5 separate regions of the Homo sapiens genome follow, and regions 1, 2, 3 and 4 are each linked to region 5. Evidence: promoter capture Hi-C in 16 types of primary human blood cells and fetal thymus (Javierre and others, 2016). All regions are on one chromosome and are shown on one strand. Each heading gives the region's core, a stretch centred on a gene start or on the middle of the fragment in contact. The rest is flanking DNA. Distances are from core to core; before and after follow the strand shown. Region 1 overlaps MICU1 (mitochondrial calcium uptake 1). Region 2 overlaps MICU1 (mitochondrial calcium uptake 1). Region 3 overlaps MICU1 (mitochondrial calcium uptake 1). Region 4 overlaps MICU1 (mitochondrial calcium uptake 1). Region 5 holds the start of OIT3 (oncoprotein induced transcript 3).

Region 1 (4,744 bases), core at 2-2,501, 410 kb before region 5:
CTATGTGTCCTTATACTAGTGAATTAAAATTTCAGTTAACATCATTTACATGAAAAAAGTTAAGATTTTATGCAGAGAAAAAAGTAAAATGAACTTTGTATATTATGTATAATTGTTAGAGAGGCCATATTCCCATCCTGCTCATGAATTTGTCAACAGAAACACTTTCTGGGCTCAAATTCCATTTTCAGGTAGTTAGGCAGCTAGGCTGGAAACTCCTGGTTTTTAGTTGCCTGGGTGAATCATGTGTGTGTCAGCTTCCAATTGTCTGCTTCACTTGATATTGACTTCCAATAGGTTTGCTTTCCTTTAGGCCAGAGACAGGGTTTCAACATGTCAGCTAGGCTGGTCTTGAACTCCTGACCTCAAGTGATCCTCCCACCTTGGCCTCTCAAAGTCCTGGGATTACAGGTGTGAGCCACCATGACCCAGCCTTCAATTGCTGGGAAGGATGCAGCTGGGGGAATTAGTTTTGTATATTTGTTGTCACTTCTCAAATTTTTGCTACCTGTCTGAATGTTACATTTTACTGAGGAGTTACTATGTGGCAGGCATTGAGCTAGATAATTGGAGGTGTTTATTATTTGACTTCATACTCTCAATCTTGAAAACTTTCATTTCTTTATTGTTTAAACAGAGGAGGATATTGGGGCTCAAAGCAGTTAAATGGCTAGCTCAAAAATCACACAGCTCCTTTTTGGCAGAAGTGGGAATTGAACTTAAGTCAACACTGACTCCAAAGCCTACAAACTTTCCTTATGTTCCAAGGCCTCTAATGTGAACATAGAGGTACTTAAAATGATAAACACACACTCTTCATGCTGACACGATTTGACCTAAAAACTAAGCAACAAAACATGACACAGTGGTTATGTCAGTCTCTGCAAAAGCTGAACATTCCAAGTTGATCATCTCAAGGAGATAACCAATATCACAGAAACACTGCCTGTGTTATGCTCAGGAGTTTAGGCTTGACCGTAGTAAATGGAAGATCCACAGGCAACATTAAACTCTCAGATAGGTTTGTCATGTGTTTTTGTTTTTTGGGACAGGGTCTTGTTCTGTCATCTAGGCTAGAATGCAGTGGCACAGTCATAGCTCAATGCAACCTCAGACTTCTGGGCTCAAGCAATCCTGCCTCAGCCTCTGGAGTAGCTAGGACTACAGGTGCGTGCCACCAAGCCTGGATAATTTTTCTATGTTTTGTGGAGATGTGGTCTCACTACATTGCCCAGGCTGGTCTTAAACCTCCTGGCCTCAAATGATCCTCCTGCCTCAGCTCCCCAAGGTGCTAGGATTATAGGTGTGAGCCACAGCACCCGGCTGGTTTGTCATGTTTTTTAAACTTCTGATTATAAATCTCTTCAGGTGGAAATGTTCTCTCTTATTCTTCCTTATTTTGTCACACTTGGCCCACTTCACTCCTATATGTTATTTGCCTAATTCCTGTAGATACTTGAGAATGTAACAATGGCAGAAAATATGAAGCCACTGAAGGTTTTAAGTAGGAGAGTGACACAATCAAGCAATTATAAAGGACTTCTCCAGCTACTGTGTGAAGAATGAGTTGGAAAAGAAAGGCCAGCTTTAAAGAAGATCAGAAGCTCTTTTAAATGTTGAAAATGCAAACTGCAGTGATGGCAGTGGTAATGGAGAGGAGGGACACATTTGAGATACCCAAAGAAGGCAGAAATTATAGAACTTAATGATTAGTTAGCTGTGATGAGTTGAGAGTGAAAAGGAATGACAGCATGACTGGCTTAGACTACTGTGTAGCTTGCATGGCATGAAGAAAGAGAGCAAATAGATGTAAAATGTTTGAGAAATAAAATGATTTCAGACGGGATCTGCTAAATTTAAGGGGTCTCAGCTTATGCAGATGAAGATGTTCAGGAGACAGTTGGAAATATGGGTCTAAAGCTCAGTGAGAGAGGTTTAAGCTGGGATTTATGGGCATACAAGTGGCTAGCTGCAAAGAACCTGAAAGGAAGTTGCCCATGCAAAACTGAGGAGTGAGGAGAAGGTCAAGAAAAGGGTAGATTGCAGGTGGAAGCCAATGTTTAAAGTGCAACGAAAAGGAAAGGAGGCAGTGACAGAGGAAGCGGCATCACAATATCCAGAGGAATACAGCCCAAATTAATAGAAATAGGAAAACATTTGATAAGAGCGAAGTCAATATGCTCCCATACATGAATTAAAGCAGTATCCCCATTCCCTCTCTCCACAATTACAGAGGTGACACAGACTGCTTACAACTTCAGCTTTATCAGGATCTTGTAGTCTTACTGTCTTGTGAGTTCCATGAAGGCATGTGCCCAGATCATTTAAATGACTGAATGAGTTATTCTAGCATATTATGGTTAATATCACCTCCTACAACTAAGGTTAAATACACTTTACCAAACAAAGTATACCCTGTAATGCTTGAGGTTTCTCTGTCTTTTTATCCTGGTATAGTTCCTTTCAAAGTACTGGCTTTATGTGGAGCAACTGAGAGTGCTTGTTAAAGTACATGCGCTGACACCACAGAGGCCATGAACCTGTGCTTGGGCCACTGCTGAGGCAAGCTGGGCTGCAGCCTTGGACATGCTCACTTGGGCCTCACCAGCCTCTCAGGGCCAGTCTTTCTAGAAAGAGCTCTCAGCCTATTCAATTTCATTGGCTGATCATGTCAAAGCATATGGGACAAACAAGCCAAAAACAAGCTTGCTTTAAGTGAAACATGCTACACAGTATATGATGTCAAGCGATTCTCTTGTAAACTTATTTGTCTCCTCTCAAATGTAGCCTTCAGGGCAATTTTTAAATCTAGTTGTTTTGGAAAGCTTATGGCATCCTGTGTTTATTCTAACTCATAATCTGTTTCCATAGAAAGGTTCTGAAAGAGGAATTTTGGTTTTTGTTTTGTTTTTTGTTTTTTGTTTTTTTGAGACTGAATCTTGCTCTATTGCCCAGGCTGGAGTGCAGTGGCATGATCTTGGCTCACTGCAGCCTTTGCCTCCCAGGTTTAAGTGATTCTCGTGCCTCAGTCTCCCAAGTAGCTGGGATTACAGGAGCACACCACCACCCCCGGCTAATTTTTGTATTTTTAGTAGAGACGGGGTTTCACCATATTGGCCAGGCTGTTCTAGAACTCCTGGCCTCAAGTGATGCACCCGCCTTGGCCTCCCAAAGTGTCGGGATTACAGGCGTGAGCCACAGCGCCCACCCTGAAAAAGGAATTCTTTTGAATGCTAGGCTACTTAGAGTGAAGAGTGAGGCTTTCCCCCCTGCTAAAACAGCATAATTTACTTTCTACACGATTTCCAAAATGGTCTCAGCAAGTGTTGAAACTGATTAGAACAATAAGACCCTACACAAAGTTTGTTACTATACACCTTTCACTTAGATTTCCTTAATAATCTTTGCTACTAGGATACAGAGCTACATTAGGTCTGTTCTGGTTACAAGTCTGTTTCTATAATATCATTCCACCATTGACAATCATGATAATAATAATGACAACTCTACACTGTTTCCTGAAGCACATTTTTTCTGTTTTGTTTTAGTAAAGAGAAAAAACCATCTTTTTCTATGTGTATTGAGTCACATAATCAGATAAACACTAGCTGTCCTGAGACTTTCACTGGTTGATTTCATGGCTATTTCTCTCACTGTTCTTTAATAGAAAATGCATAAGGAATGGTACGGGTAGGAATGGTTGAACTAAAGTTCTAATTCTGGCTTTTCCAATAACCTAATGAGTCATTTGCTGCCTTACATTATTTTTTGGTAGCACTGATGGAATGATGAAAAAATGAATAGGTTAGATTCTAAACAAGTTTCTTATTTTCTATTGGTTTGATTCTCCTATCAAAGAATTCTTACCTGTCCCATTCCTGTTTTAGAATGCTAGAGGATAAATGAGGTAATTGATATGCAATGTCAGAGAAGTCTGAGTTTTGAAAAAAACTTCCAGAATGTTCCTCTATTCAATGATGAGCTTTCCACTGAATTTGTAAGGATGATCACACAGCCTCTGATTATTTCTGAGGGAGAGGTCACCACTTCTGAGGTGTAAACATTGTTGACCATATTAAATGAGCTGTTTTTTTTCCTCATGCACAGTCCAAATCTACCCTGTGTAGCTCCTAAAAACTGTCATAGTTTAATCTTCTAGAGAAATAAATCTGCTTCTTCATTTATATGATGGCCCTCTGAATACATATAAACTATTATCATGTCTCTAAAAAGGCTTCTTAGAACTTGCTTCCAAAACCTCAACATCATAATAGCCCTCGTCTGGGGGGTACTTTAAATGGTCAATGCCCCCATAAATGCACTATATATATATACATATATATATATATATTTATTTATTTTATTTTATTTTTTTACAGAGTCTTGCTCTGTCGCCCAGGTTGAAGTGCAGTGGCGTGATTTTGGCTCACTGCAACCTCCACCTCCCGTGTTCAAGCGATTCTCCTGCCTCAGCCTCCTGAGTAGCTGGGATTACAGGCATGCGCCACCATGCCTGGCTAATTTTTGTATTTTTAGTAGAGACGGGGTTTCACCATGTTGCCCAGGCTGGTCTCGAACTCCTGACCTCAAGTGATCCACCCGCCTTGGCCTCCCACAGTGCTGGGATTACAGGCATGAACCACCACGCCTGGCCCCTTTTCTCTAATTCTAAAATAAAACAGAAAAAGGGCAATCATCTCGGGGAGCCACTGGGTCCTTTTAGCCATGAAGACAAGGAAACTAC
Region 2 (4,853 bases), core at 1,954-4,453, 490 kb before region 5:
ACGCCTGTAATCCCAGCACTTTGGGAGGCCGAGGTGGGTGGATCATGAGGTCAGGAGTTCAAGACCACCCAGGCCAAGACAGTGACCCGGGTCACCATTAGCCGGGTGTGGTGGTGGGAGCCTGTAATCCCAGCTTTTGGGAGGCTGAGGCAGAGAACTGCTTGAATCTGGGAGGTGGGGGTTGCAGTGAGCCGAGATCACGCCACTGCACTCCAGCCTTGGCGAGAGAGAAACTCTGTCTCAAAAAAAAAAATTTTTTTTTAATTTGAATTTTTAAATTTTTTGTAGAGACAAGGTCTTGCTATGTTGCCCAGGCTGGCTTTGAACTCCTGGCCTCAAGTGATCCTCCTGCTTTGACCTACCAAAGTGTTGGGATTATAGGTGTAAGCCACCACATGCAGCTAAAACCAAAATATTTGGAAGTTAAACAATATACTTTTAAATAGTCCACAAATTTACCTAATAAATAGAAAATATTTTGAACAGGATGATGTAAAAAATATTACATACCAAAATTGTGTGTGTGTGTGTGTGTGTGTGTGTGTGTGTGTGTGTGTTTTGAGACGGAGTCTCGCTCTGTTGCCCAGGCTGGAGTGCAGTGGTGCAATCTCGGCTCACTGCAACCTCTGCCTCCTGGGTTCACGCCATTCTCCTGCCTCAGCCTCCCAAGTAGTTGGGACTACAGTCGCCCATCACCACACCCAGCTAATTTTTTGTATTTTTAGTAGAGACGGGGTTTCACTGTGTTAGCCAGGATGGTCTCGATCTCCTGACCTCGTGATCCGCCCACCTCAGCCTCCCAAAGTGCTGGGATTACAGGCGTGAGCCACCACGCCCGGCAGTGTGTGTGTGTTTTATTTTTTGGTTATGTGTTTTTTGTTTGTTTGTTTTTTGGAGACAGAGTCTTCCTCTGTCTCTCAAGCTGGAGTAGAGTGGTGAGATCTCAGCTCAGTGTAACCTCTGCCTCCTGGGTTCTAGCAATTCTCCTGCCTCAGCCTCCCCAGTAGCTGGGATTACAGGTGCGTGCCACCATGCCTGACTAGTTTTTGTATTTTTAGTACAAATGGAGTTTCACCCTGTTGGCCAGGCTGGTCTTGAACTCCTGGCCTCAAGTGATCCACCCACCTTCCAAAGTGCTGGAATTACAGGCGTGAGCCACCACGCCCAGACTAAAGCAGTGTTTATAGGGAAATTTATAGCTTCACAAGCTTACCTTAGAAAAGGTAAGTAAGGTTTCATCTTAAGAAGCTTAGAAAAAGAAAAACAAAATAATATATACTGAAAATAAGTGAAGGAATAAGTAACAAAGGTATGAGCAGAAATCAACTCAATAGGCAACAAACCATAGAGAAAATTAACAAAGTCAAAAATTGGTTCTTTGAAAAGATTAACAAAATTGCTAAACCCCTAGGTAGACTGAGTAAGAAATATTTTTTTAAAAAAGAAAGAGAATTCATAATTTGCCAACAGTAGGAGTAAAAGGGGATTTCAGATTCTACAGACATCAAAGGGATAATAATGGAATATTATGAACAACTTCATGTCAATAAATTCAATAACATAGATGACATGGGCAAATTATTCAAAAATATAACCTAAAATTCATATAAAACACAAACCTTACATATTTACTTAAAAAATTAAATTATCAAAACCTTTTCAGAAAGAAATTGGCAAGTCCAGATAGTTTCACTGATGAATTCTATCAAATACAGCTCAGAAAGAAACAATACTCATCTTACAGAAACTTCTGAAAACAGAGAAGGAAAAATCCCTCATTTTATTTATTTACTTATTTAATTATTATTTTTGAGATGGAGTCTTGCTCTGCTACCCAGTCTGGAGTGCAGTGGCGTGATCTCAGCTCACTGCAACATCCATCTCCCGGGTTCAAGTGATTCTCCTGCCTCAGCCTCCCAAGTAGCTGGGACTACAGGCATGTGCCACCAAGCCCGGCTACTTTTTGTTATTTTTAGTTACAGATGGGGTTTCACCATGTTGGCGAGGCTGGTCTTGAACTCCTGATCTCAGGTGATCTGCCCGTCTCAGCCTCCTAAAGTGTTAGGATTACAGGCATGAGCCACCATGCCTGGCCTATTTAATTTAATTAATTAATTAATTTAGAGACAGAGTTTCGCTCTTGTCGCCCAGAATGGAGTGCAATGGCGCAATCTCGGCTCACTGCAACCTCCACCTCCCAGGTTCCAGTGATTCTCCTGCCTCAGCCTCCTGAGTAGCTGGGATTACAGACACCTACCACCATGCCCAGCTAATTTTTTGTATTTCTAGTAGAGACAGAGTTTCACCATGTTGGCCAGCCTGGTCTTGAACTCCTGACCTCAGGTGATCCACCTGCCTCGGCCTCCCAAAGTGCTGGGATAACAGGTGTGAGCCACTGTGCCCAGTCCCTAACTCATTTTATGAGGATAAAATACTCTGACATAAAACCCGAAAAGACATTACAAAAAAAAAAAAAATTACAGACCAATATCTGTCAATATTTAACAAAATGTTAGGAAATCAAGTCTAGTAATACATTAAAAAAGCTAATACATCATTACAAATTAGGTTTATTTCAGGATAAGGAATAGTCAATGTCATCTACCATATTAAAAGAATAAAGCAGAAAAGCCATATGACCATTTCAATATATATAGAAAAAAATTTGACAAAATACAGGAGCCATTGATGACAAAAACCCTTTTCAAATAACAGAAAATAATTTTCTTAATCTGACAACGAGCAACTATGAAAAATCTAATCTAATATCCAATTTAATGGTACAATATTGAATACTTTTCTCTAAAGTTCAGAAAGAAGCCAAGGATGTCCACTCTCACCACTTCTATTCAATATTGTATTGGTGGGGTAAGCAAGTGCAATAAAGCAAGAAAAAAAAAGCCATAAATTTTTTTTTAAAAAAGGAGATGAAACTATCTCTGTTTGAAGATGATAGGATTATTTACATAGAAAAACCTGAGGAATCTACAAAACAACTAGAAGAATAAGTGAATTTAGCAAAATTACAGAATATAAAGTTAATATATAAAAATCAGTTATATTTTAATATTAGCAGCAAACAATTAGAAAATAAAATAAAACCAATTCCATTTATAATGGGATCGAAAACCATAAAATACTTAAGCACAAATTTTAAAAATATATGTGCAAGACCTGTATTAATAAAACTATAAGACCACTGCTGAGAGAAAATGAGACCTTAAAAAATGGGGAGATATATTATGCTCGTGAATTATAAGATGCTATATTACACTAAGGTGTTGATTCTTCCCAAATTGATCTACATACTCAATGTTACTGTAATCACAATTCCACTTCTTTTGGCATAGAAAGTGACAAGCTGATTCTAAAATTTATATGGAAATACAAATGACCTAGAATATCCAAAGTAATCTTGAAAAAGAAGACCAAGTTGGCAGCATTTACAATAGCTGACATTTCAGGACTTTCATATATGTTCATATACTCCTTATTAAAAAAAAAAAAAGAGAGAGATGGGGTCTCACTATGTTGCCCAGGCTGGTCTCAAACTCCTGGGCTCAAGCAATCCTGCACAATCTTGGCTCACTGCAACCTCTGCCTCCCAGATTCAAGCAATTCTCCTGCCTCAGCCTTCCGAGTAGCTGGGACTACAGGCATACACCACCACGCCTGGCTAATTTTTGCAATTTTAGTAGAGATGGAGTTTCGCCATGTTGACCAGGCTGGTCTCAAACTCCTGACCTCAGGTGATCTACCTGCCTCAGCCTCCCAAAGTGTTCGGATTACAGGCATGAACCACCATGCCTGACTATATTCATACAATGGGTTACTACTCATCATAAAAAAGGATTAAACTACTGACACACAACGGAGATGGATCTCAAAAACATTGAGTGAAACCTTAGACGAGTGTACATTTATATAATTCCAATGTATGAAGTTCTAGAAAAAGCAAAATTAATCTATGGTGGAAAAATATACAGTACAAAGGTTGCCTCTTGGTGAGTGGGGGCAAAAACTGTGAAGGGGACTGAAAGAACTTTAAATGAATCTTGAACTTTAGTTAATATTCATACTGAACTAATTGGGAGTGAAGTATACTTACGTCTGCAACTTACTTTGAACATGTCAAATAAGATCAATGATTACTTAGAGAGGTGAAAATATGCATAGTCATACGATCAAGCAAATATAGCAAAATGTCAGTTGAGCTGAATATGTGGATGTTATTTAAATAATTATTTCAACTGTTCTGAATGTTTAAAAATTTTCATAATGAAATGTTGAGGGAAAAATTGTGCTTTCAATTCCTCCGTGCTCTCACGTTGCTTGTACAAACTGTAACTGAATTTCTATGAAGTAAGCCAAAGGAGCGGGGTGTTATTCTCAGAGTCATATTGTCTTAAAAAAAGTCTTAATATAAGAAATAAACTAAAGCATTCCTTCTCATCAAAGACGCAACTTAAGTTGTATAGTGACTTTAGCTTCACATTGTATATATAATGACTCTGGCTCAGATAGGGGAAGTTCTGCAGCTTCATGCCCTGTGCCTCAGCTTAGATGCTTATTTTCAAGGTTAGTCATTTAAAGATAGGCACCTGCCCAGACTACGGCCTTAGCACAAGAAAATATATTCACTGAACTTGGCATCTCAGGGTGAAATGCAAGGCTCATACAATGTCAACAAATCAAAACACCATTTCAAGGATGCCAAGAAAAACTTATCTTTTACTGTTCAGGAGGGGCAGTCACCTAAGAGATTACAGATCCAATGTTCATACCTTCAAAAAAACACTTTTTGAGTTTCATTACCTTTATCAAGAGATGCTCCAGCCATATGGTAAAAACTC
Region 3 (4,459 bases), core at 405-2,904, 440 kb before region 5:
ACCAGATTTCTGCAAAGGTTTACGGAAACAGGAGCAGTAGGGACAAACTATAAGGCCTGAAGTTACTATGTATGGGGCACAAATAGGTTGAGGGATAATAATGTACAAAATGCTTCCGATTCACTCTCTCATTTGAGTCTCATAATAACCTTTGAAGTAGGCATAATAGCTACTGCCTAGAGGGACCTGGGATTTGAAGAGATAATAGGACAACACCAAGATCATAATATAGGCTAGAGGGTTTTAAAATTACTCTATACAGATATATATTATTGGCATGATTATAGTCATGACAAAATTGTATATTACTGTTTCTATGAATGACTTAACAAGCCCATAATTACAGACTGACTGTAAGTATACATATATATTCCTAATAAAAAGAAGAAAAAGAAAACCTAGGTAAGCAATTATATGTTAAACTGCTAGTTTATAACCAGGAGGCAATGCTGTTAAAAATAGTTACTACTTGAAGTTTTCTATAGGAACAATTTCACAGATGCAATATACGAAAAAATCATTGGTGTACAGGCAGAAGTTAAAAAAAAAGATATGAAAAAATCAATTGTGCCTCAGTTAGGAAAATGGCCATGTTCAATGAATCTATCATGAAAAGTCTTGCTATGCTCCACAAAAGCTGGAGAGTTTAACTGAGAGGAACAGAGGTCTATTATATTAGAACGATAAAACAGTTAAGGTTATATCTGCTTTTACCTGGATGAACTGAGCTAAATTATGAAGTTGCATATTCTCAAATTTCTGCCTACACTAAAAACCTACATTTTGAGGACACCATCTGTAAAATTAGTAACACATTATTCTTCAGTCTCCAGAGCTCAAATCCCAGTTGATCTCACTTTTTCTGATGACCCACCCCTTCTTTGATTGGCTTAATCTTATCATCCATTTTAATTCTCACCATTCAGAAAGCCATTGCATAGGTGATGAGCTCATTCACATTGGGCACCATGGAAAAAGTTTATATATATGTGTGTGTGTGTGTGTGTGTGTGTGTGTCTGTGTGTGTGTATATGTGTGTGTATATATATATATATATATATTTTTTTTTTTTTTTTTTTTTTTTGAGACAAAGTCTTGCTCTCTTGCCGAGGCTCACTGCAACCTCCGCCTCCTGGTTCAAGTGATTCTCCTGACTCAGCCTCCTGAGTAGCTGGGATTACAGGTGCCCACCACCATGCCCAGCTAATTTCTGTATTTTTAGTAGAGACAGGGTTTCACCATGTTGGCCAGGCTGTTCTGGAACTCCTGACCTCAAGTCATCCGCCCACCTTGGCCTCCCAAAGTGCTGCAATTACAGGTGTGAGCCACCGCACCTGGCCAAGTTAATATTTTTTAATACACTAAACATTACATTGGAAAGTGCCCATTTTTTAGAAAAGGAGAGCTAGAGATTGGAACACAATATATAGAAATTAGAATTCAGATTAAGTTGACTGACAAGCATTAGGAAAAATGCAATAAAGATTGGGAGACTGAGGCTCAGAAACATGTAGCTTAAGGAAGCTTTAATACACAAAGTGAGAACAGTCCAAACACAGGCAGGTGAATGGCAAAGGATCTAATGGGCCACACTGTATCACTGTCATTCTCCTTTCATAAAGGAAAAAAAAAGAAAATATTTTCCCCCTTAAGAACAGGAAAACCATGAAGTCCTTTAATGATAACAATTGTAAAAAACAGCCAGGGAGAAAATTTGCAAGATTTCTTTTACAGTGCTGTAACCTATTGGTTAATTATAAGTTTAGCTGTCCCTTGCTAGACAATTAAGCTTTGTTTGTTCGTTTTGTTTTGGTTGTTTTAGATAGGGTCTCACTCCGTCACCCAGGCTGGAGTGCAGTGGTGTTATCATGGCTCACGTAGCCTCGACCTCCTGGGCTCAAGCGATCTTCCTGCCTCAGCCTCCAGGGAGCTGGGACTACAGGCATTTGCCACCATGACCAGCTAATTTAAAAAATTTTTTAATCTGGGCATGGTGACTCATACCTGAAATCCCAGCACTTTGGGAGGCTGAGGCGGGCAGATCACATGAGGTCAGGAGTTTGAGACCAGTGTGGCCAACATGGTGAAACCCTGTCTCTACCAAAAATACAAAAATTAGCAAGGCATGGTGGCAGGTGCCTGTAATCCCAGCCACTCAGGAGGCTGAGGTACAATAATTGCTTGAACCCAGGAGGCAGAGGCTGCACTGAGCTTAGATTGCACCACTGCACTCCGGCCTGGGTGACAGAGCAAGACTCTGTCTCAAAAAAAAAAATTTTTTTTTGGTAAAGACAGGGTCTCACTATGTTGCCCAGGCTGGTCTTGACCTCCTAGGCTGAAGCAATCCTCCCACCTTGGCCTCCCAAAGTGTTGGGATTAAAGGCATGAGCCACTGCACCTGGTAAGTTTCTTAGAGTACCACAGACAGACCATTAAGTCAGGTTATGTTTTAAATCCTGCAGCAGTAAAGCGTTTTTTTATTTTTTTCTTTCTGGTCATCAAGTTAATTAAGGTTTTCTTTAGTTTTTTTTTAAAAGCAACTTAAGAAACATAAACGATACTTCTCAATTTTGTGGTACTTTTTCATTTTTAAAATAGCTAATGAGGAATGTTTCATGCTTAAGTATATTGGTCTATCTCTAGATCGAACTTCACATTTACAAACATGGCTTTTAGGAGTTCCCACATATGTTTGGGAAGTGGAGTGGGCAAAATCCTGGAGAAGACAGAATTGTTGAAAGCGGGGCTGATACCCCAGAATGTGCCTAATATACTAGACCATAGATGCCACAGAGAGCTGGAGAGGGAGTGGGCATCAACATGTATGTGTACTTTGCCAGGCTTTCGTCCACATCTGATATTTACTAATTCAACACTATTTCCTGAAAATCTGGTTTGTGTTCTGTCTCTGGGAAGCACTAAGGAAATAATGGCGGGCCCAACACTCTCGTGAAAGTTCTCAGGGAGTGTTTGCAGAGAGACAGGTATTTAACAAACAATGAAATGACTATGTAATTAAGTGATTTGAAAAAAAAGTACAGAGTCCTTTGGAAATGTGTAACAAAAATGTGATCTAATTTGGGGTGGAGAGGTGGTGAAGCAGGAAAAGATATGAGTGAGGTTTAAGTGAGCTCTGAGCGATAAAAACAAGGTAACTAGGTGAAGGAGAAGGAAGAGAGCTCCAGGGAAATCAATAGTGGTGCAAAGGCTCTTAGTTAAGAGTGATTGATGAGATGAATCACGTAGTTAGGCGGCAACTGAAGTAGCCCAAGCAAAAGACAAGAATGGTGGTGGAGACAGAGACAGGTGGTCAGATGAGATGATGTTTCTGACAGTGATTGTGCGAATGGAGGTGACTGAAGGTATCAGTGCCAAACAGGTTCTTTTCTGCTTCATACACATTCCGGGGAACTAACTCTAACAACTTGCAAAGCCTGTGGTTGCATGGCTTTCTCACTGCTAATCTTAAATCTTTACTAAAACAAAGTCAGATCATGCTTTGTTTCTGCCTTGCAGGTCTTTCTCTTGCTGGTGCTAGCAGAATATTCTCATGTTTGAAATTATACTTCCTTAAATCTTTATTTTTTTAATTCTTTTTTTTTTTTTTTTGAGATGGGATCTCACTCTCTCATCCAGGCTGGAGTGCAATGGTGCAATCTCAGCTCACTGCAACCGCCACCACTCGGGTTCAAGCGATTCTCCCGCTTCAGCCTCCCAAGTAGCTGGGATTACAGCTGTGCACCACCACATCTGGCTAATTTTTGTAGAGATGGGATTTCACCATGTTGGCCAGGCTGGTCTTGAACTCCTGACCTCAGGTGATCTGCCTGCCTTGGCCTCCCAAAGTGCTGGGATTACAGGCGTGAGCTACTGCGCCCAGTCCCTTAAATCTTTTTTTTTTTTTTTTTTTGAGACAGAGTCTTGCTCTGTTGCCAGACTGGAATACAGTGTCATGATCTCAGCTCACTGCAACCTCCGCCTTTCTGGTTCAAGTGATTCTCCTGCCTCAGCCTCCCAAGTAGCTGGGATTATGGGCATGTGCCACCATGCCCAGCTAATTTTTGTATTTTTAGTAGAAATGGGGTTTCACCATGTTGGCCAGGATGGTCTCGATCTCCTGACCTTGTGATCTGCCTGCCTCAGCCTCCCAAAGTGCTGGGATTACAGGTGTGAGCCACCATGCCTGGCCTAAATCTTTAAATTGTTTTTAATATCATCTCTTCTTGGGGTCCTAATAGGCTTGCAACAGCTGATGCATCAATGTGAATGGCCAATATAAGACAATAGAGGCAGTGGCAACTATTAAAGAAGCTGTTCCCAAAATCTCCCATAGCTCTCAAAGGCAGCAGAGATCTACCTTCAAGAGTATCAGATTTGAAGAACTAGATGTAACACAGAAGATGAAGATAATCTTTTTTGTTGTTTTTTAAGAGACAGGGTCTCACTCTCACCCAGGCTG
Region 4 (4,578 bases), core at 1,150-3,649, 460 kb before region 5:
CAAGAGCCCAGGTCAGACTGCCAGGAGTCTGAATTTTCTTGATCTTTAAAGAGGCAGCTTTATTGCAAACACTAACAAGGTTGTCTTTTGAGTAGCTGGCAAACTGAGGAAGAAGGTTCACAATCTGGAACAGAGGCAACACAGTTTAGTGCCTTCAGCAGGGGCCAAAACAAGTCATTAGAGTCTTGGTCCATAAGATTATAGATTACCAAACTCAACTGCTAGAGCTTTCTACTTCCAATCCAAACATTCCTTCTATTTTATTTTATTTTTGAGATGGAGTTTTGCTCTTGTTGCCCAGGATGGAGTGCAATGGCGCGATCTCCACTGCAACCTCTGCCTCCCAGGTTCAAGCAATTCTCCTGCCTAAGCCTCCCAAGTGGGCTGGGATTATAGGCGCTCACCACCATGCCTGGTTAATTTTTTGTATTTTTGGTAGAGATGGGGTTTCACCAAGTTGGCCAGGCTGGTCTCGAACTCCTGACATCAGGTGATCCACCCGCCTCGGCCTCAAGTGCTGGGATTACAGGCGTGAGACACTGTACCTGGCCTCCTTCCATTTAAAAATGGTTTTTAAGAAAAAATTTCAGGTTGGTGATCAAAACAACTGACTAAATGATGAGTACCAATCACAACAGTCAGACCAGGGAAAGGTTAACCCTCCAGCCTGACAGCCAAAACCACGAAGATAATAAGATTAATGCATGAATTTATTACAAGATAATAACAATCAGGAAATATTTGACTGAGGGTGTCAGGGAAAAATATTTTAGATTTGGAACAAAAGGTTTCAAGGTTTGATATGTTTTGTTTTCATTCCACAGAAGGTAATATACTGAAGTGACTAAGAATATGGACTTTACAATCAGGAAGGCCTGGATCCAAATTCTGGCCTGAACCCATACTTGCTGGCTGTGACTTCAAGGAAGTGGCTTACCCGTTCCGAGGGTTCAAATCTTCTTACCAAAAAATAGAGATAATATTCGTGACCTCAAAGTGTTGTTGTAAAGATTAAATGGGATAATATATGTAAAGAAATTAGTACAGAGTTTGAGGCCCAGTTAACATTCAATAAATGGGCTGGGTGTGGTGGGTCACACCTGTAATCCCAGCATTTTGGGAGGCCAAGGTGGGAGGATCACTTGAGGTCAGGAGTTTGAGACCAGCCTGGTCAACATGGTAAAACCCTGTCTCTACTGAAAATATAAAAATTAGCCGGGTCTGGTGGTGTGCACCTGTAATCCCAGCTACTTGGGAGGCTGAGGCAAGGGAATCAGTTGAACCTGGGAGGTGGAGGTTGCAGTGAGCCAAGATCGTGCCACTGCACTCCAGCCTGGGTGACAGAGCGAGATCCTGCCTCAAAAAAAAAAAAAAAAGAAAAAAAATTCAATAAATGTAGCAATTAATTTTATTTATTATTCAACACATTAGAATGACTTTAAGATTAAACTACTTAGAGTTTCTTGAAGCAGAACACCAACTTAATAACCTGTACCCTGGCCATAATTATAAAACAGAAAACCTGGCATAAAGAAAGAGCTCAATAAATATGTATTGAATGAACACAGACAAAACACCAGAAAATTCACAACACTTCTGTCCTATTGTTGGGAGGGTTTCCTATCTAAGGCAAGGAATATCTCTACGTTTATCTCTTAATATCTACCTCCATGATACTGATTTCTATAAGGATAGTCTTGAGAATGCCATTCATTTTGGCTAATCAGTAACATATCTGAGTGCTTATACTTGCCAGGTGCCATCCTAGGAACTAACCTTTGTTAATTCTCGCAATGCTATATAATAGGTAATAGTATTATTCTATTTCAAAAACAGAGAAAAGTGAAATAACTTGCCCACACAGTTAATGTGGAGAGAAATTTCTCTCTGGTCTCAGTATCAGAACAGTTGATATGTTCTTATTTTAAAGTCAACGTGAATCATGTTTGCCTTTTTATCCTGGTTACTGGAAAGCTTATAGTCAAGTTTGTGGGCCTCTTCTAGAATAGGAGACATTATGACTTACACTTTTCATACTAACCTTACTTAACTTTTCTTAAAAGAAAGTTAGGCTTTCTTTTACTTTCTTCTTTCTTTTAACTTTAATTTTCAGCAAGTTTTTACTTTTATCTCACTGCCTGTACTTTTTATGAATTTCTGAAATCCCTTCTTGAAAAAGGCAAGATTTAAAAAAATGGTATTGGACATCTAGGCTGTTTCATTTTTTGTCTATGGTAAGTACCACTCTGATAAACTTTTGCTGAACTTAATTTTTCATCATTATTTTAGGAATTGATCCCTAGAAACAAAATTCTGAAATATAAATTATGGGATCTTTAAAATTTTATTGTGAAATATTTGACATATACATAATAATACATATAACAGACAAGTTATGAAGCATAATAAAACAAACACCACGAGCCTCCCACTTACCCTGAGAAAGGAAGCATCGGCACTCCATTTGAAGCCCATGCCCTGCCTCCCTTTTCTAGTACATTATTAATATTATTATTTTTTAGATAGGGTCTCGCTCTGTTGCCCAGGCTGGAGTGCAATGGCGTGATCTTGGCTCACTGCAACCTCCACCTTCCAGGTTCAAGCAATTCTCCTGCCTCAGCCTCCTGAGTAGCTGGGACTACAGGCATGCGCCACCACGCCTGGCTAATTTTTGTATTTTTAGTGGAGACGTGGTTTCACTCCATTGGCAGGCTGGTCATGAACTCCTGACCTCAGGTGATCCGCCAGCCTCAGCCTCCCAAAGTGCTGGGATTACAGGCGTGAGCCACTGCACCTGGCCTATTATTTTCAATAGTTTAAAACAAAAGCTTGTATTCCTAAACAATATATTGTTTACTTTTACTTGCTTCCTAACTTTATAAAATGGTATCACAGTGGATATATTCTTTTGCAATTTGTTTTTTTTAATCCTCATTATATTTCAAGGATTCCTACATGTTACAACATTTAACTGTGCTTCTTTCATTTTTACTGTTACAGATTTCTACTGCTTTGAATATACCTTTATCTGTCTGTCTATCTATCTATCTATCTATCTATCTATCTATCTATCTATCTATCTATTTTCTGAGATAGGGTCTTGGTCTGTCACCCAGGCTGGAGTGCAGTGGTGTGATCTTGGCTCGCTGCAACCTCTGCCTCCCAGGTTCAAGTGATTCTCATGCCTCAGCCTCCTGAGTAGCAGGGATTGCAGGCGAGCACTACCACGCCAGCTAATTTTTGCATTTTTGGTAGAGACAGGGTTTCGCCATCTTGCCCAGGCTGGTCTCGAGCTCCTGGCCTCAAGTGATCCTCCCACCTTGGCCTCACAAAATGCTGGGATAACAGGTGTAAGCCATCGTGCCCAGCTTCTACCACTATTTACGTATCAGCTTTCCTCTAAATGGACATCTCAATTATTGTCAGTTTTTTGCTATTAGGAACAATGCTGTTATGAACATTCTTAGATAACTGTGCTGATGAAAGAAAAACAAGAGTTCTGAGACTAGGGTATATATCTGGAAGTGGAACTGCCGGCCTTTCAAGATAATGCCCAATCATTCTGCAAAATAATCACACCAACACTTTTTATCAGCTATGTATAAGAGTGCCCACTGCTTTGCATCACCACCAGCACTTGGTATTGTCAGTTTTTATTTTTTGCCACTCTCTTCGGTCTAAAAATGGTAGAGATAAACTATTTAATGCTCCCAATGTAGTCTGCCAAATTAATTTCCAGAAAAATGTATCAATTTGCAATCCCACTAGTATATATGAGAATATGCATTTCTTAGTATCCTTAACAAAATCAAACATAATAAAAAATCTTTGCTAGAGGAAAAGTGACAACTCATTTTAATTAGTATTTCTTTGATTACTAGGTTGACCATTTTTCTAACATATGTAGTGGTCATTTATATTTCTTCCTCTGTGAATTTTTTATGTTGTCTATTTTTAAAAATAGCAGTGCTGATACTTGTCTCATTAGCTTAAGATTAAAAATATTTGCTTTTTGTTAATGTATTGCCTTTTTTTTTTTTTTTTTTTAATTTGAGGCAGGGTCTCACTCTGTCACCCAGGCTGCAGCACAGTGGTGTGATCAACACTTAATGCAGCCTCAACTTCCTGGGCTCAAGCAATCCTCCCACCTCAGCCCCCTGAGTAGCTAGGACTACAGGCGTGTGCCACCATGCCCAGCTATGTTTCTAAAAAATTTAATACAAATAAATATAAAAACCAAATTTTCTTTTTGTAGAGACGGGGTTTTCCTCTGTTGCCCAGGATGGTCTCAAACTCCTGGCCTCAAGTGATCCTCCCACTTTGGCCTTCCAGTGTGCTGGGATTACAGGCATGAGCCACCCTGCCTGCCAATTTTTTTGCCCAGTGTATTAGTCCATTTGTGTTGCTATAAAGGAATACCTGAAGCTGGGTAATTCATAAAGAAAAGAGGTTTATTTTGGTTCTGCAGGCTATAGGGGAAGGATGGTGCCAGCCTCTGCTTCTGGTGAAGGCTTCAGGGAGCTAACAGACATGGTGGAAGTTGAAGTGGGAGCAGGCATATTACATGGCAAGAGTAAA
Region 5 (4,729 bases), core at 1,653-4,152:
CTGAGGCAGGAGAATCATTTGAACCCCGCAGGCAGAGACTGCAGTGAGCTGAGATTGCGCCACTGCACTCCACCCTGGGTTATAGAGTGAGACCCTGTCTCAAAAAAAAAAAAATACTTATTTGATAAATGTTAATATTTTATAAATGCATCATTCACTGAGCAACCCCTCCTCCTTGAACTTCAGCTCCTGTGACTCCACCCTTGGGTTTCCGTTCGTAAATCTGTGACTACTTCTTGGTCTCCTTTACAGCGTCCTATTCCTCTGCCCACATCTGTGATATTAGGCTTCCCCAAGGTTCCATCTTGGACCCCATTTTCCATGGGTGTGATCTCACCCCTCTCCCCTATTTAAATTACCATTTATATGTTGGTAGCTCTCAAATTGTTACTCTAGCTCAGATATATCCTAGACTGATTTATCCTCTTCGTAACTGGTCTATTTCTAGCATTGCCTTCTGTACATTAAATTCTCTCAATGTCACCAGAGTATTTTTGTTTTTAAATTCTAATAGCACATAATTTAGAAAAATTGTAACATATGAACAAGCATTAACATTAAATATGGGGGAGGAAAGACTACAAGACACCACAAAGAAGCAATTCACCAAACCCAAAACGTGGAACATTCTGTAGGACAAATGATGGGGTTTCTTCAACAAATGGAAGGAAGGGGGGAAGACCATTATGGATAAAAATATATATATATATATATATTTTTTTTTTGAAACGGAGTCTCCCTCTGTTGCCTAGGCTGGAGTCCAGTGGCACAATCTCGGCTCACTGTAACCTCTGCCTCCCAGGTTCAAGTGATTTTCCTGTCTCAGCCTCCCAAGAAGCTGGGATTACAGACGTGCACCATCACACTTGGCTAGTTTTGCATTTTTAATAGAGATGGGGTTTCACCATGTTGGCCGGGCTGGTCTCGAACTCCTGACCTCAGGTGATCCACCCACCTTGGCCTCCCAAAGTGCTGGGATTACAGGTGTGAGCCACTGCACCCAGCTGATAAAAATAAATTTAAGTGACAATCAAAATGCAATATATAAATCTTGTTTGGATCCTGACTCAACCCAGCAATAAAAGGAATATTTGGAACTATTGGAGCAATTTAAATATGGATTGGATATGAGTTAAGGAATTATTACTAATTTTCATAGTTGTAATAAAAGCATCATGATTATGTAAAAAAATACAATGTGTTAGAAATGCATACTGGTATGTAAATGAAATTGATAGAATGTTAGTAATTATTATAGCTGAGTGTTCATTATTGTTCTTTATACTTTTGTATATATATTTGAAATTTTTCATCATAAAAAGTAAAAAATGAAAGAGCAGGTCAACTAAAAAGGAAAAAATAGAAATAAGGGGGAAAAAACATCTTACCATCCTGGGAATTCTTGTTTACAGAACCAAAGGCTATCTGGTGAAAGTCCTTGACTCCAGCAATCAATCCTGGCAACAAGTCTGGGTTTATCTCATGCACACGTCCTCTGTTTCTCTGCAACACATATGAAGCCCTCAGATGGCTTCCTAGGCGCAGGAAGTTGTGGGGGATTGTTTTTTCTGTTTAAAGCACTGATACTTAGCAACACTATCCTGCAATGAGACAGCAGAGTCATCCATTGCTGCCATCAAACCACAACTTAATAAGTTAATGGTCAAATTGCCTGTGTCCCACTGATGTTAGTAATGAAGTAGCTAACTACAATTTTAGATCAATGGAAACCCCTTGCTTGACCATAAACCCTGTGCTTCTGGAGACCATGTGTACTTTTGTCATTGTCAAAAACCAGTGATTGCCCGAGCTCGGTGGCTCACACCTGTAATCCCAGCACTTTGGGAGGCCAAGGCAGGCGGATCACGAGGTCAGGAGATCGAGACCATCCTGGCTAACACAGTGAAACCCTGTCTCTACTAAAAATACAAAAAAATTAGCTGGGCGTGGTGGTGGGCGCCTATAGTCCCAGTTACTTGGGAGGCTGAGGCAGGAGAATGGCGTGAACCCGGGAGGCGAAGCTTGCAATGAGCCGAGATCACACCACTGCACTCCAGCCTGAGCGACAGAGTAAGACTCCGTCTGAAAAAAAAAATTGTGCTAAGAAGCACATTTTCTCTCCTTTGTCTAAAAGTGAAACTTCAGGAAATTTTGACATTTAATTTTCCAGAGTGTTAATTTAATGAGTAGTTTCTAATTTTAAGCTCCTACCCCATCTTAATGTGAGAATTAGTGAAATAAATAACATTAAACCATTTTTTAATTTTGGGAGTAAAGACAATAAAAATATGAGGTATTGCTGCTTGAATTAGTAAAAACACAATTTAAACCTTGTTTCTTTCAGAAGTTTTGAGGCCAAAGACCGTAATAAAACAAACTCAGGAGCTTATTTCAAGAGAATACTGTCCTTGTCTCATACCTGTCCTTACTACTTTGTTTTGTGTGCTATTATAAGCTCCTCAACCATCTGACCAAGACAGTTGCAGTGATTTGGCTTCATCCATTCTCGTTTAGTGTGCAGTGCTATGGCTGCAACATTGTGAAATCAATTCCTAGAAGTCACAAAGCAAGAATTTGACGTGAAGGGATGTCCCTCATTTAGAATTCCCTTCTGGATAAGATACTGGGGTTTCATTGCAGGGAATTCTTGAGAGAAAACAATAGGAGGATGAGGGATTGTGAGTTGTGTTTTTTTTTTTTTTTCCTAAAGAAAACTATTAATAAAGGAACCCTGTTGACAGTGTAAAGCAGTGCTTCTCTCTGGGGCCAAGGCCAGAGCTGTGGACACCTTATCCCACTCATCCTCATCCTCTTCCTCTGATAAAGCCCCTACCAGTGCTGATAAAGTCTTTCTCGTGAGAGCCTAGAGGCCTTAAAAAAAAAAGTGCTTGAAAGAGAAGGGGACAAAGGAACACCAGTATTAAGAGGATTTTCCAGTGTTTCTGGCAGTTGGTCCAGAAGGATGCCTCCATTCCTGCTTCTCACCTGCCTCTTCATCACAGGCACCTCCGTGTCACCCGTGGGTGAGTCTCATGTCAAGAACTTGGCACAATGCACTTTTTGTTGTGGCAATTTGCTATAATGTACAGATGATTAAGAACTAGATTCCAGTACCTTAAATGCTAGCTCTAGAATCTTGTAAGAAAAGTCCCTAATAATCCTTGAAAATAGATTTCCCGAGAATTTCTGTTACATGTTCCATTTAGCCTCTTGCCTGGACTCCAAAATTTCCATGGATCTGCCATATCCCACAGCTTTCACTAGCTAAAGAGTTCCTGGAGTATGTGTAAAAATAATTCTATCTTCTTTGTGTTCTAGGCACTTTATAGTTCCAACTTGAAGAGCCAAAAAAAAAAAAATTAAAGTTGAGCATAGAATTTTTCTTTAATGAAGGCAAGGGACTGAAAGCTCTGTTGCCATGGGGGGCACAGATCTGGATAAACCAAACTCATTAGTCTTTATGTCAGAAAATAAGACTTTTTGCACAGATCGAGTGAATCTTAAATTGTCTCCCTCCTCAGGCTTGGTGCAAAACTGGCCAGTCAGGCAAAGAAAAGTTTCAATTCCAGTTACTAACAGATTTCTCTCTTGCATCTTTTTCTAGTAGAATGTGAGTACTAACTGGAACAGAGGGTGGGGGTGAGATGGAGAGAACCATCCTTCTTGACACTTTTGAGTAGCTCAGTATCTAATTGACCCTGGCTTATTTCTTCATGGTTGCTCTAGTACCTGAAAGGATACACATTAAAAATAGGCTTGTGGCCAGGCACGGTGGCTCACACTTGTAATGCCAGCATTTGAGAGGCCAAGGCGGGTGGATCACCTGAGGTCAGGAGTTCAAGACCAGCCTGGCCAACATGGTGAAACTCCGTCTCTACTAAAAATACATACACACAAAAAAATTAGATGGTCATGGTGTTGCATGCCTGTAATTCCAGCTACTTGGGAGGCTGAGGCGGGAGAATCACTTGAACTCGGGATGTGGAGGTTGCAGTGAGCCGAGATCGAACCACTGCACTCCAGCCTGGGCAACAGAGGGAGACTCCATCTCAAAAAAATAAAAATAAAAATAAAAATGGTGATTTGAGACCCTAAGGAGACCTGACACCTAAAGGTAATGTGGGATCCTGGAACAGAAAGATATGGGTGGAAACTAAGGGAATCTGAATAAGTGTGGACTTGAGTTAATAATCAGGTATCAATAGTGGGTCATTAATGTGACAAAGGTACCATGCCAATGTGTGGTAAATGTATGGCTAAAGGTAACGTGTCATAACAAGGGAAACTGGGTGTGGGGTATGTGGGATCTCTTTGTCCTATCATCTCAATTATGCTGTAAATCCAAAACTATTCCAAAAAATATGCTTGAGCTACCTGTCATTAATCACCCCCTATCTGCTGCCAATAACTAACCCAAGGGTCGCTCAGAAAGTTGTCCTCCCGAAAATCTCCACTCCCCTTTCTTCCCACCCTTCTCCTTACCTATTCTCCCTCTAGTACCTCCTATATTCCCCATTCTTTCCATATACCATCGCCCTTCCCAGATCTTTTCCTCCAACCCCCAGCTCCTCAAGGATGATATTTGGCTCAATGCCAGAAGCATGATAAAGGGGGAACTTTGGGAACTAGAGCTGGTGTTTGCCCTGAGAGGACAGGGGAAGTGAGAGAAGAGGAAAAGAAGGGATGAGAAAGGGGGAAGCAAAGTGGGGTGATGAGGGAGGAGGATGGA

What was found. Contacts are between HindIII fragments. The CHiCAGO score rates a contact against its expected background, and 5 or more counts as called.
Region 1: a fragment that was not itself captured here is called in contact with the fragment with the promoter of OIT3 in region 5 in 3 of 17 cell types (activated CD4 T cells, erythroblasts and endothelial precursors); the score reaches 6.0 in activated CD4 T cells.
Region 2: a fragment that was not itself captured here is called in contact with the fragment with the promoter of OIT3 in region 5 in 2 of 17 cell types (naive CD4 T cells and neutrophils); the score reaches 6.0 in naive CD4 T cells.
Region 3: a fragment that was not itself captured here is called in contact with the fragment with the promoter of OIT3 in region 5 in 1 of 17 cell types (endothelial precursors); the score reaches 5.2 in endothelial precursors.
Region 4: a contact is called between a fragment that was not itself captured here and the fragment with the promoter of OIT3 in region 5, in 1 of 17 cell types (erythroblasts). The highest score is 5.1, in erythroblasts.

Annotation. Positions count from the first base shown.
Region 1 is chr10:72,478,502-72,483,245 of GRCh38, forward strand. All of the region lies in intron 6 of MICU1 (mitochondrial calcium uptake 1), which reads right to left. It also overlaps the pseudogene SNX19P4. Among named protein-coding and RNA genes, the nearest start is that of DNAJB12, 130 kb to the left of the region's middle. The HindIII fragment of the contact is 2,903 bases long and covers 1-2,703 here.
Region 2 is chr10:72,403,114-72,407,966 of GRCh38, forward strand. It overlaps MICU1 (mitochondrial calcium uptake 1), which reads right to left. Exons shown (of 12, transcript NM_001195518.2): 10 at 4,816-4,853. Among named protein-coding and RNA genes, the nearest start is that of DNAJB12, 51 kb to the left of the region's middle. The HindIII fragment of the contact is 3,915 bases long and covers 1,247-4,853 here.
Region 3 is chr10:72,447,134-72,451,592 of GRCh38, forward strand. The region is part of intron 8 of MICU1 (mitochondrial calcium uptake 1); the gene reads right to left. Among named protein-coding and RNA genes, the nearest start is that of DNAJB12, 94 kb to the left of the region's middle. The HindIII fragment of the contact is 265 bases long and covers 1,523-1,787 here.
Region 4 is chr10:72,428,060-72,432,637 of GRCh38, forward strand. The region is part of intron 8 of MICU1 (mitochondrial calcium uptake 1); the gene reads right to left. Among named protein-coding and RNA genes, the nearest start is that of DNAJB12, 75 kb to the left of the region's middle. The HindIII fragment of the contact is 854 bases long and covers 1,973-2,826 here.
Region 5 is chr10:72,890,837-72,895,565 of GRCh38, forward strand. OIT3 (oncoprotein induced transcript 3) reads left to right here and starts at 2,903. Exons shown (of 9, transcript NM_152635.3): 1 at 2,903-3,023. The coding sequence starts at 2,963. The HindIII fragment of the contact is 8,602 bases long and covers 2,020-4,729 here.